Linked DNA regions of Homo sapiens: region 1 is linked to region 2. The links are contacts of gene promoters, found by promoter capture Hi-C in human tissues and cell types (Jung and others, 2019). All regions are on one chromosome and are shown on one strand. The core of a region is centred on a gene start or on the middle of the fragment in contact, and the rest is flanking DNA. Distances in the headings are between cores, read along the strand shown.

Region 1 (6,882 bases), core at 785-3,284, 69 kb after region 2:
TATAATCTGTTCTCTTACAACACGTATTTCTGTAATAGGCATTAAATCGAATATTGCTAAGTAAGGAGATGACGTCACTCTCATGTGGAAATTGGGTTGGTTCATACATGATTTTTTCTTTTTAGCATATTAATGCTTTGTGTCACCAGACAGGAGCAGCTGAACGTGAAGGATGCCAATGGAATGAGTTGAACGAACAAGGTGCGGAATAAGGCTCTTTATATGACGTCCATCATCACAGGCTTTTTCTGGTTCATCTTGGCCGCAGGTTCTGCCTTGGCCAGGCAGACAGTGCCTGTTGTGTAACTCAGCATCTCCTTACCCTTCTTTATGCCTAGTCTATCAAGGTGACATTGCCCTTTTCTTGGAAAGGTGAAGTCCTTATTTACTTACATATTTATTAGGAATATAATGTCTTAACTGTGCCAATATTTTCACTAAGATTGGTGTTTCTGTTAGTGTTCAGGTTGCAAAATTGGATGTTTGCAATGGTTTTCCCCAACCAGAATTTATGTTTCTTTTTCATAAATTGTTATTTTTAGTGCATAAATTTGAGAATGAAAAAATTTTTAGGAGCATATTTATCATACTATAGCTGAAATGTCTGTATGCTGTCTTCCTACCCGTAATCGTGAACAAATTATCATGCTCCTGTCTAAAGCTAATTCCTCCAATTGTGGACTGCATTTTATCCCCTTATTCAAGGACGTCGCTCTAGCACTTAGCCCTTTTTTCCTATTTCATCATCTTTTCGTCTTTCCTGGAATTCTCTTTAACATAAAAAAAAAGCTGCTACTTCTCCCAACAAATCTTTCTCTTGCTTTCACACTCTTTACCAATCTACTACTCCTATTTCTTTGCTCACCTGTTCTGCAAAACTAGTTGTAAGAACTGTCTATGCTCACTATCTCCAGCTCTTTTCCTATTTTTTCTTAAGCTCACTGCAGTCTGGTTTTGCTCCCCTTCCATTCCACCAAAAGCCCCATGGTCAAGGTCATGAATGACTCCCTCACTGCTAAAGCCAATGGTCAATTTCCAGTTATCTTACTTGGTCAGTTAGCAGCATTTATAGGGTTAAATACTCCTCCTCTATACCCTTTATTCATGTCTTCCAGGCAACCACACTAGGTTTTCTTTCTATTTCACTGGTTGTTCCATCTCAGTTTTCTTTGGAGTTTCCTCTTCTCCTGCCAACCTCTCAGTATGGGAGGAATTCAGGGCTCAGCCCTGGTCTTATTCTCCTATTCCCAATCCTTTGGTGATCCCATCCAGTTTCATGCCACCTAAATACTGAAAATTCCCATAATGTATCTCCAGAGCAGACCTTTTTCTTAAAGTGCAGACTCACATATTCAATTGCCTAATCAACATCTCCACTTTGTTTAATGCATATTTCAAAATTAGCAAGTCTAAAACTGTCTAGCAAGCAAGTCTAAACAAGATCTGCTAGTTTAGACTGTCTAGACTAGTCTAAATTAGAGTGTCTAGACTAGCAAGTCCAAAACAGAATTTCTGATATTTCTCACCAAACCTGCAGCCTCTGCAGCCTTTCCTCTCTTAGTTGATGAAAACTCTACTGTTCCAAGTTCTTGGCTAAAAGTCTTCAGTCATTCCTGTCTCCTCTCCATTTATCATACCTCACATCTAACACATCAGTACATCCTTCTGGTTCTACTTTCGAAATACATCCAGAATCCATGTGCCTCCTACCAACACGACTGTTACCACCCTGGGGCAAGCTACCATTTTCTTTTGCCTGAATCATTGCAAAAAACTCCCAGCTGATCTCTTTACTTTCACCCTTCTCTTCCTACAATCAATTTGCAATATAGCAGCTACAGTATCCTAAAACATATGTTAGGTGACATCACCTATTCAAAACTCTTTCAGTGGTTTTGAGTAAAAGCTAAAGCCCTTAAAATAGTCTTCAAGGCCCCATCTCATCTAATATACCACCTCTACCTGCCACCCATTACCTTGTTAACCTAATCTCTCATCCTTTATCCGCAGTATCCACTATATGCCAGGAGTATCTCTCTCCTCCTTCAAGTTGTGGTAATCAAAAATGTCTGCAGACATTGCCATATGTCTTCTGAGGACCAAAAATTGCCGCTGGCTGAGACCCCTGCTTTAACCCAAGGAATAAGGACTACAGAAATCTTGCTTTTTCTTTGAGTTGTCAAGTTCTACCAAAAGCAGATAGCCCGCCTCATAGGGCTCGTATTCCTCAGGTTTTTGGTGTTTCCCAGAGCATCAGGTAAGCACAGGCATTATGAACTGCTTCACCATCACATGCCATACACTTTCTATAACACTAGCTGTATTCTCACTGCCTTTAACCCAAGTAGGCCAGATACCGAGTAACGAATTCACATTACTGGGGGCCTCTTGCTTGAAACCCCTCAGAGTATCAGTCTCCATTATCAGAGTCCCAGCTGTTAACAACACAACCACATTTACTTAGTTTTAGCAAAAATGAAATGTATTCAAGATTAGTAGGTGGCTCTTAGAATTTCCTAGGAAGGCCAGAGAGAGAAGCTTAGCGGTGGCTACGTAGCCAAGAGCAGTGCTGAAACCTCAGGAGAGGAATGTTCTGGTGAAGATCGCTTTGTGTTGCCACTGGGCACAAATGCCATAGCTTGCACATGGGTGGACCTGATACCAGGGGCCCAGGTTTCCACACCCTGGCTGGAAAACAGATTTTATGACTTCTGCTTTGGGGAGCTGATTCACAGGGTGGAAAATTACCCAAACATAGCAAAGTTGTTCAAATACCACTAAAGCTGCCAATAAGTTGAACAATTGTATCACACTATTGAAAAACATTAAACCAGAGCATATATTCTCCTCAAACTTACTGTTTCTTTTTCTCAGGTAGTGAACATAAGCAACAAACTGACTTTCTATATAAATAAGGGCGAGGTGACAGTGTATGAATGCTTTTAGAAAAAAAGCAAATTTCATTTTCCATCATGTTTTGAAGGATACTGGCTTAATTCAGTTATTATTCTCACTGTTGGTTTACATAATAAACATATAAAATGTATTGCAAATACAAATTATTTTCATTCCAATGGAGAAGAAAATTACAGGCTCAAAAATCAAGTTTAATATCAAAAGAAGTTACACATAAAGGTTTTTACATTTCCGAAAATCTGATAGTTAAAATATCCCGTCTGGTGTTGATTGTGATACACTTAAGTGAACCCCTGAAAACCTTTATTTTGAAATTGAAGTTTTTGCTCAGAAACTGGGCAGAACTTTTCACATTCTGACAGAAGATAAAACTTAAGTCTAAAAAATATTCGATAACTTTTTTCTCAAAAACATTAAGTACTTTAGAATATAAAGCAGAAACTCTTACCAAGCATGTGTACCCATCAGCCACACCTCCTGTCTTTGGGGGAATTTGGTTACTTGGAGCTCTGTGGGTGCTATATGAATCCTAGAGACAGCAAACTTCTGCTGTACAGCTAACTTACAAGGGCCTGAACCCGGCTGATGGCAGCAAGCCTGCTACAGTCCAGAAGAGTGCGACTTCTTATATTTACATATGAACGCATCTGTCTTTCCAAGGCTAACTTTGTAGCATTCCACTGGTACCAAGGAGCCAAATGGTGACATTCTGTCTAAGAATTTGTGGTTACTGGCTTCGAATGAAGTTGACGCTGTCTTGAATGCACCAGTTTTTTCTTCAGGATTCAAGCACTTTTTAATTCCAGGTTCATCTGTGTGACTGTCCTTGGAATTGAAAGGGATGTTGCTCTCTTTACAATCTGTAAGGCGCCTGTGGTGATCTTCACTAAGCAACAATACAATGGTTCCGCCAACATGAAGCACTCTGTGACAAAAAAAAAATGGTAATTGCTATCTTTCTCCTTTCTAGACAACAAACAATCCCACTTCATTTAAAATGGTTCATGTTTTTAATTTGAAATTTAATTTTATCCATTTAAATATAAGGATTTTTGATAATTAGGTAGTATCTTCTATAATGTATATTCATTATAGTAATTATGAAATCCCTAGTACAAATCTGCTTTAATTATCTATTTTTACTCAAAAGGCAAGCCTCAAAGTAATTTGTAGTCACGGTCTAATAAATGATTGTATAAAGGAAAAGGCAAATGACAGAATCCTAAAGACTGCATGTATTAAAAGCAGTAGCCTGACAGCAGAAGAAAGTTAACAGGAAAGAGTTAGGACACGAACAAAGAAATGGCGAAGGAAAAATCAGAAAAAGAAGGGCAGATCTTGAAATGTCAGCTTCTTGAGGAGAATGCATTTACTCAATTATCAAAGTCTATGTAGCACTTATGTGGAAAAAGTCATGAAAACACTTGCCTGTGTCCCGTGACATAGCCCTGTAAGTTGCCAAGAGATCACTGAACATCTCTTTGGGAGAGAGAGGCGAGTAAAGGGTGTGAAAATGCTATAATCAAGGCAAGCATGAGGGGCTTGGGAACATGAGGTGGGTCCCAAACCCGAGCATGGGACAGAGGAGAGAATTTCCCAGAGGAAGATACCTGTGCTATGAGTTAAAAGACAAGTGGGAATGAGCCAGGCAAAGCGACGGCAAGCGGCTGCAGCAAGGGAGGGTGCTGGAAGCAGAAAAAGCAGCAAAGACGGGAGGAAGTGGAGAGGAGGCAGCTCTGAAAGCAGCTCAGTGGGTGGGTGAGTCACAGCGGGTGGGAAGTGGAGGGAGGAGGGGAGTAAGGAGTTCAGCTTGGAACGTGCTGATGTACCTAAGGAACACATAAGTGCGGATTCCACCAGAGAGCTGGATACACAGCCTGGAGTAATGGAAAAGACCAGGCCTTGAGGTAAAGATACAGTAAATGGTAGCTAAAGCCATAATGGTGGATGGGATCACCTGGGGTGGCAGTACAGGTTGAGAAGAGAAAATGGGACAGGGAGCAGAGATTTCACATTTAAAAAGTGACGGAGGAGAAGACCCATGAAGTAGACATCCTCAGAGAAAATCTGGACAACAGTTATGTCAAGGAAGCCAAAGAAGTACAGTTTCAAGAAAGAAACAGTTTCAACAGTGTCAAATGCTATAGGGCCGGCATGGTGGCTCACACCTGTAATCCCAACATTTTGGGAGGCTCAGGTGGGAGGATCGCTTGAGCACAGGAGTTTGAGACCAGCCTGGGCAACATGGCAAAACATGTCTCTACCAAAAAAATACAAAAATCAGCCAGGTGTGGTGGCGTGTGCCTGTAATCCCAGGTACTTGGGAGGCTGGGATGGGAGGACTGCTTGAGCCCAGGGGGCAGAGGTTGCAGTGAGCTGAGATTGCACCACTGCACTCTAGTCTGGGCAACAGAGAGAGACCCTGTCTTTAAAATAAAATTATTTTTTACACACATACATATGTAAAAATATATATATAATATATATTATATATTTACATATAAATACATAATTTATATACATATAAATTATATGTATATATACACATATATACATATATAAATTATATATATATGTAAAATAACAAATGCTATAGGACTAACAGGTGATCAGGATTATGAGAAATCAGTGAACCCAGGGACAGCAATCCTAGCTGAAGGCAGGAGCAGATGCTCGTCTGCCAGGGTAGAGTGGGGCTGGAAACTGAGGAAGCAGAGGTGTCAAGTGTAGGCCATTATTTCAAGAAGTTCAGCTGTACAGGAAAAGAAACAGTGGCAGCTAAAGGACCAAGAGTTAAGGGGAATCTGCCTCATGCCCAGCAAAAATCTAAGAAGCTTAGGTAGCTTTCCCTAGTCTAATCCATCAGCAAAGCTAGACAATTCTGTCTCTAAATTGTATCACATATTTGTCTACTTCATTCATAGTTTGCCTGGACCACAGCAACAATCTGGTAGACAGGTCTTGTTTCCATTCTTGTCGCCCCTCCCACTCTGTCTTCCGTTTCCACACAGAAGACAAATGTAAATTCTTTGCTAACTCCTCAGTTGCTTGCACTGTACTTCAAATACATTCTAACCCCCTTACTCTGGCATCCAAGGCTCCTACACAATCTGACCCTTACCTACCTTTTTGATGTCACTGCCTGCTTTCTTTGCTTACTGACCTTCCTTCAGCTGCTCAAACTCACCAAGCTGCTTCTCACCTTAGGACATTTGGAATTGCTGTTCACCCTGCGTTTATCACTCATTCTTATCACTCACGCCCCACAGTCAAATATCACTTTCCCAGAGAGGCCTTTCCTGACTACCTAGCTAGGGTAGCCACTACTTTTCTCTCACTCTAAAGCAAAACATTTTGTTTTATGTCCATCACAGTACCAGTCATGATCTGACATTATCCAGTTTGTTTACTGATTAACCATCTGTCTTCTCACAATGAATGGTCAGAGACCTTGCCTGTCGTATTCACTGCTGTAATCCCCGGGGCCAAGTACATGCAAGTGCATGGGAGATGCAAAGACTTCCAAACGTGTCTGGGGAAGGGATAAATGAATCTCCTGGAAAGAACCGGCAGATGAGTAGGCAGAAGATAAAAATGAGAAGTGGGCAGAGTGTGATCCTTGAGGAGGAAGGAACTGAGAGGATAAACCCTTGCAGGAAGAGGGAAGCCTCTTCTACTGAGCAAGGAAGAAGTGGATGGGAAAATGAGTACTCTTGAAGACAGAAACTGAAGTAACTTTTTGGGGCAACAGTTTAGCAATCATGTATCAAAAATATGAAATGTACATAACCTTTGACCCAGCAATCTCACTTCTAGGAAATTATCCTAAGAAGATGTAATAGTAGTAGTAGTAGAATAACAGTGATAATAATGGTGATATAGCTAATATTTATTGAGTACTTAATATGTGCCAGGCAGTTGGATATGCTCTGTATTATGTATCATTTAAACTTCAGAATTATCTTT
Region 2 (6,439 bases), core at 2,257-4,756:
TGTGATAGATAATTCTAAAATACTGTGTCTAAGTGAATTGAGTGATATAACACCAGCAAAAGAGTTGAGGAGGGCAGTTAGACCATAAGGAAATATGAGACTTTAATTTTGAATATCTTGAGCCCAATAACACATTAAAATACCCTGGTGGAAATTCTCCGGCTCTCCCTGTCATGTGAGGGATTCTGTTTTTCTCTGAGGGATGCACTGGGGATATCGGATCTGGAGATGGCAAAGAGAAATTTAAGACAAATAAAAAACAAGCTAAGTTTGAAAACATCAAGGTCATAGCATAGCCACAGCTAAGATATGCCAGGTGTTCTGGCTGGATATTTGATCTCCCATCATCTTGACTCCATGCTGAGCTAAATGGCCTCCTACACTGATTATATTCAGGTATAGACTTTTCCTTCCACTCATCTACAGCTATCCAGCTTGTAGTCAGTCATTAGAACATGTTAACTTTATGACTTAAAAATGTACAAAAAATACTTATTTTACAGTGGCCTAAGACACTGAAGCCTCCAAATGTATGAAGTAGACACTAGGCCAAAGAGGTATTCTCTGACTGCAATACAAATATTTCTGATATCCTCTTGGCAAAGTTTAACTCATCCTTTAAGAACTAACTCAACAGTTACTGTCTCTATGTAGCCCACCTGACTCCCCACGGCAGTTAGTCTCTTCATTGTCCATGTTCCCATGACCCTTTGTTCTCTTTTATTTTTTTACTACAGCATTTGCCTCTCATTCTGTCAATACATCTGTTTCTCGCCACTAGGCTGGGAGTATCTTGAAGATGGGCACCACTTACTCATCTTCATATTTTTCACTCCCCTAACAGAGTAGGGGGCTACTGGGTGATAGTTCATTGTTGGAAGTATCCAAAAGGGGAATTTTAAAAACATAGATGGAGCAATGTGCAGTTGCTGTAACAAAGCCTGTGTACACATCATATGCCACATCCCTGCTGGCGCCATTAATGCTGCACCAGCAGAGGCAGCGCTCTCATTACATACTGCTGGCCCATATTTGTAATGTGTGACATTTTTTATGAAATACTGTCAAGGGCAATCCATCATATAGTAACCTTTGGATTATATGCTGAGAATGGTCTTAAACATAGACATAAATGAACTTGAAGAATAATGCTATTTTCTAAAAAGAGTATGATCAAAGAGTTCTAGCTAGGAAAATGAGACAGAATGGTAAGTTCTTTTAATTTAAACAGAAGTGCCTTAAAAAGAGGCTTTCTTCTGTCTAGCTCCAGCTGAAGACAGGGTTATTGTGTGAAGATGATTAGGTGACTCTGGAATGTGGCTGAATATTTATTTCTTGTAATACATGAGGTGAAGACTTGAAAAGGGGATGAGGACTTGCTAAAGGCTTGACAACCCTTGGGGCTTCCAAGGTTTTGATAACTTTATCTCAAGATGCATTTCTAAAAATAAAAGAACACATGATGACTTGAGTGAATTTCAGATGTCAACTGTGGACTCACAGTTAAAGGTATTCTCTCTGTGCATCTATTAAGATCTAGGATTTTATACATATTGTAGAGTATAAATTAAAGAAAGCTTCTAAGTCTTATCATTTTTGTGTAAATCCAGCTAAGACTCCTTTGATGAGCTCAGTGTTTGCTGTGAAGGAAAAGCTTATAGGTGAGAGGAACACTAAAATTATAATTCTTTGTCTTCCTTAATTAGACTAGAGCTCACCATAGACCTTGCTGAAACTGTGAGAAAATCCAAGCAATAATTCACACTGTCAGGTCAGCAGAAATGGGAATGCGGGTCTGATATAACTGAAAGATTTGCTTAAGTGATCTATCTATGAACTGAACCGCTCAGAATAGGCACACGATCTTCACTGGAAATGTACCCTCTGAAGATGCTAAACACAAACAGCAATGAAAATAAATCCCAGCAAGAGCCTTATACCACCTTTACAGATGTCATCCTAGAGGAAGGATATAAAGCATATTAATACCAATTGATGTAGGGCACTAATTAATAAGTCCCATTAAATCATGGAGTAATGACATTTAGCATGTAATGAATGCCTCATAATTTCTTCATCATTAATATTTCATAGCATAAGAACACAAGCATTTTCATCCCTGGGCCAGTGCAGCATGGTTTTCTGTCTCTGACATGACCACAAGGGCATTGAGTGGCACGAGTGTATTGCACCTCTGTGGTATAGACTGACTATACCGCACAAGTGATTAACTCTTAGCACCCCGGGTCCTAGCGTTTCCTCATTTTAGAAAATGTGAATCTGCCTGCCATTCTTGGAAGTAACCTCTGTGACTGGAAGATGGAAGAACTGCCCCAGGCTCAGGTGTTGACTTTGGTGTGTAGCATTGCTTTGCTGTTGACCCCCACCCCCCAGCCCAAGAAGGAAACCTGCACAGGAGAAAATCATTACTTTGATTTATTACTGGGGGCTTGCTGTATGCAAAGGCAATAATCACCTCATGGAGCAGGTGCCACTGCCAGGGTTCATTGATTCCAGGCTCTTCTAGAAATTCCAGGAGGCCAGTCAGTCTGGCGGGAGATGGACGTAGTCAACGAAAAAAGAAGTCCATCTCATAGCAGGTTGAAATGAAGTGGGAGAAAAATCTCTGGTCATCGTTCTATCGCTCCACTGACACTCGGTGTCTTTTTCTTTCAGAAGAGGGGCTTGAGCAGAGAGAATGCTTAGAGGCTAAGCGATGGGCAAGTGAGAGGGAAAGAGCCGCGACAGATAGAGCTGGCTGCCTAGGGGTCTCAGAGGCTTCATCCTGCAGGCGGCAGGCGGCAGGACAAAGGGACCTTCGGACTCCAGATCAAGATTCCAAGGAGTTAAACGCTACCACGCAGCCCGACCTGGATGGGATTTGCTCCTGGGTACAAAACGGGACACTGATCAAAATCAACTTGGACAAGTGACAAGAGTGAGTCTTATGTCGGTGGATGTCTTTTAAGGTCGTTGGAGGGAAGAGGACGGGAGGGGTGTGCCGAGGGGTAGGTGGAGAGAGGCACCGAGTCCAGAGCCGGGATATAAATGCACCAGGAGCCGGGGAGCAGAGGAGCAAATGAGTGGGGGAAAGTGTGAGAGGAAGAGTTGGAGAAAAGTCGGGGGAAAGTAGGGACAGGGTTAAGGGGAGAGAGGAGGATGAGGGCGGCGAGGAGAGATTAAAAGGGGAAGGGGGGTCGCTGGAGAGGAGGGCGGACTGTGGATCGGAGGTAGGGAGAGGGGCGAGAGGAGTGCGCGGGGTGGGGGGCGCCGGGGCGAGGAGAGGGGGCTGGGGAAGAGGAGGGGGGCAAGAAAGCGAGAGCGGCGCGGGGGAGGGCTAGGAGCCCGGGGGCCGGGCCGGGGGCGGGCGGGCGGTGGGAGGCGAGATCAGGCCAGGGGAGAGGGAGCGAGCCGGGCCGGGCTCGCAGGGCGAGGAGGCCGTAGGAGGGAGGTGGGGGGCAGGTGGGGGGAAGAGGGAGGGAGCGGGCGGAGAGCTGGGGCCAAGTGCATTGTGTCTGGCGGCGGCGCGCGAGCCCACCGGCGGCTGCGGCGGGGCGGGAAGCCATGGAGCCGCGGGCGCTCGTCACGGCGCTCAGCCTCGGCCTCAGCCTGTGCTCCCTGGGGCTGCTCGTCACGGCCATCTTCACCGACCACTGGTACGAGACCGACCCCCGGCGCCACAAGGAGAGCTGCGAGCGCAGCCGCGCGGGCGCCGACCCCCCGGACCAGAAGAACCGCCTGATGCCGCTGTCGCACCTGCCGCTGCGGGACTCGCCCCCGCTGGGGCGCCGGCTGCTCCCGGGCGGCCCGGGGCGCGCCGACCCCGAGTCCTGGCGCTCGCTCCTGGGGCTCGGCGGGCTGGACGCCGAGTGCGGCCGGCCCCTCTTCGCCACCTACTCGGGCCTCTGGAGGAAGTGCTACTTCCTGGGCATCGACCGGGACATCGACACCCTCATCCTGAAAGGTGAGCGGCGGGCGCACCCCGCGTCCCCGGCGCCCGCGCGTGGAGCGCAGCCCGCGGCTTCCCAGGGGCGCGCCGGTCCCCGCAGCCCCCTCCCAGCCGCGGCCCCGCGCCTGGGCATTCTTGCATCCTTCCCGCCGCCTCCAGTCTTTATCTCTTCCCTTTCTTTCCCCACTGCCTCCCTTCTTCTCCCTCTCCTTGACTCTCTTCTTTCGTCCACATCCTGCGCGTCCTTTCAAGTCCGTGCCGCACCTCCCGCCTCTGTCTCCTTCTTTCCTGCCTTCGCCTCCCATTCCCCGGTTCTCTCTCTCTCCCCGTCCTTCTCTGCCTTTGTACACCTGCCTGACATGTGTGTCTTTTCTTGACGCTGCTCCCCGTGAGGGGGACTAACCGTCAAAGACTCGACTTTTCTCACCCGGGCTCCTTCCTTCAAGTTGTGCTCCTTTTGGAAATACCGTTTGGAAGAAAAGTGGTGCCGACCTCCGAAGAGAGGGAAGGGGCTTTGCCTGTATTGTGCGGATGCTGGTGTCAGACGGAACTGATGTGGTCATCCCAGCCTGGCAGGGCTGATGGGCAGCGAAGGAGGCCCCGGAACCTTCCTTCATACCCCTGAAGTGCAGGGTGTGTGTGGATTAGACTTCAGAGACCAATCGTTGGCTGGTGGAGGCTGGTGGAGGCTGCCCGAGGCAGATAGGACACCTGCTTTCCAACCTTCCTGAGGACCCCATACCCCCACCCTCCTCGCTGTCCAGGCACTGAGGAGAGAAAATGTCCTCGCCCTTTAAACTAGAGCTTTCCAGATTTGGGCACTCACTCTCTGCTTATCACTCTGTCTTCTGTTCGTGGTACCTTGTCAGGTTGTTTTTGTTGTTTGTTTTGTTTGGCACTGAGTTGCAGAGCATCAATTTGTTCTTCTGAAATCTGTGCAACACCTGTCTTCTGTGAATGCTATCAGATAGTTTGATTTTTTTTTTTTTTTTGGTAATCCCATTCACGTAAAAATATTCAGTGTGACAACTTGTGAAGCTTCCTTTAACTTTCAGAACTTGACTCAATGTATTTTTTTCCCCTTTGAGATTAAAAAAAAAAATCAACATCTCTTCTCTTGGACTCATGATGCCAAAAAAGAAAAAGTCCAAAATCAGTACATTTTAATATTTAGTAGCCATGTAGGAAAACAAACAGACGGATTTGTGTTGAGTTACAGCCTGGAATGGAATGACATAGAAAAGAGGGGGTTAATAATGTGTTGGCCTTCAGAGTCTTGCTAGTTGGCGGATTCTTCATTTCTCAAACATGTCAACTTCCTCCTTCCCATGGCTAACTCAGCTGGGGACTGCCATCCAAAATCTGTCTGCGTGTGGAAGGACTCCAGCACTTTTAGGGGAACCAGATACAGTAAAATCTTTTGGGAAGTGCACCATTTTCTTTTCTCTCCTAACTTGCATCCAAATCTGATTTCTCCTCATGAAGATGCTGCATAATTAATTCTGATAGTAGCATAGTACATGAACAAACTGTAAAAGCTGAATGTGGAGGCTCAGTTATGGAGTGCTCATTTAGGCAAGGCAATTTTGAAAGCTAAGCAGTGTAGTCTGTCTTTGGAAATGACAGAACTGCATTTCCTTACACTTTCTATGCTTAGAGTATTTGATTGCATGTAAATTGGATATAGAGCAATGCCTGAAACAGCAGGGCAGAGTCAAACCTACAGTAGAAGAGGGGACCCCCACAGGATATTGCACAATGCCTCTGCAAATGCCCTGGCTAACTGAGGTGCCAGTTCCAGGGCAGTCCAGGGTCAAATAATAGAGGTGGAAGGACTTTAGAGGTCATTGAAGTTGAACATCTACTGGTTGTTCAAATTCCCTTCTACAATCTTTCTGACAAATGGTTGTCTAGCCCAGTACTTCCGTAAGACGGAACTCATATACTCGTTAAAAGAACTAGATTTTCCCAGTCACGAATGCCTATTTTTAGATGAAAACAATCTCAGCTTTATAATATTGATGGTGTTTAGCTAATCTTTTGTGTAGAACACTGAAGAGTTCTAGGTTGTGAACAGAAGATATGGGCCCCATTGCTGGCTCTGTTGCTAAATTGCAGTGTGTTCTCCAAGTATCAAGACCTTCTTCGCCTTCGGTTTCCTTGTCTGTGGTATTATTAGGAGGGATGACTATTCTTTAGAGAAATTTCTAGTTCACATATCTGTCATTGTTATAATTAATAACAATGTAAATTTAGCTTCTTGCAAAGTTAATGAGCCAACGCTATTAAGCAATGAGGAGTTTGGAGGAAAGAACAGGCATTGGTAGATTATAGGATCATAATTTGTTGTTTGGGAGATGTCCAGAAATGCCTTGTAATGTTGCTACTAACCAACCTTGGGCTAGTTACATAATTCTTCTAGATCTCAGTTTCATCATCTGTGAAATGTATGGGTGACAAGAGCAGCTTTAAAATTCTGAGTCTATGAAT

Evidence for each region. The method cuts DNA at HindIII sites, captures the fragments that hold promoters and counts their contacts. A contact is called where the count stands out against the background at its distance.
Region 1: a fragment that was not itself captured here is called in contact with the fragment with the promoter of TMEM178A in region 2 in 2 of the 25 tissues and cell types used here (hippocampus and neural progenitor cells).

The regions. Positions count from the first base shown.
Region 1 is chr2:39,733,219-39,740,100 of GRCh38, forward strand. THUMPD2 (THUMP domain 2 tRNA and snRNA guanosine methyltransferase) reads right to left here. Exons shown (of 10, transcript NM_025264.5): 10 at 2,843-3,841. The coding sequence ends at 3,517. LOC124905994 (a long non-coding RNA gene) reads left to right here and starts at 3,777. Exons shown (of 3, transcript XR_007086294.1): 1 at 3,777-3,860. It also overlaps a transcript of TMEM178A not described here. The HindIII fragment of the contact is 4,220 bases long and covers 1-4,144 here.
Region 2 is chr2:39,662,411-39,668,849 of GRCh38, forward strand. It overlaps TMEM178A (transmembrane protein 178A), which reads left to right and starts at 3,507. Exons shown (of 4, transcript NM_152390.3): 1 at 3,507-3,964. The coding sequence starts at 3,565. The HindIII fragment of the contact is 7,843 bases long and covers 1-6,238 here.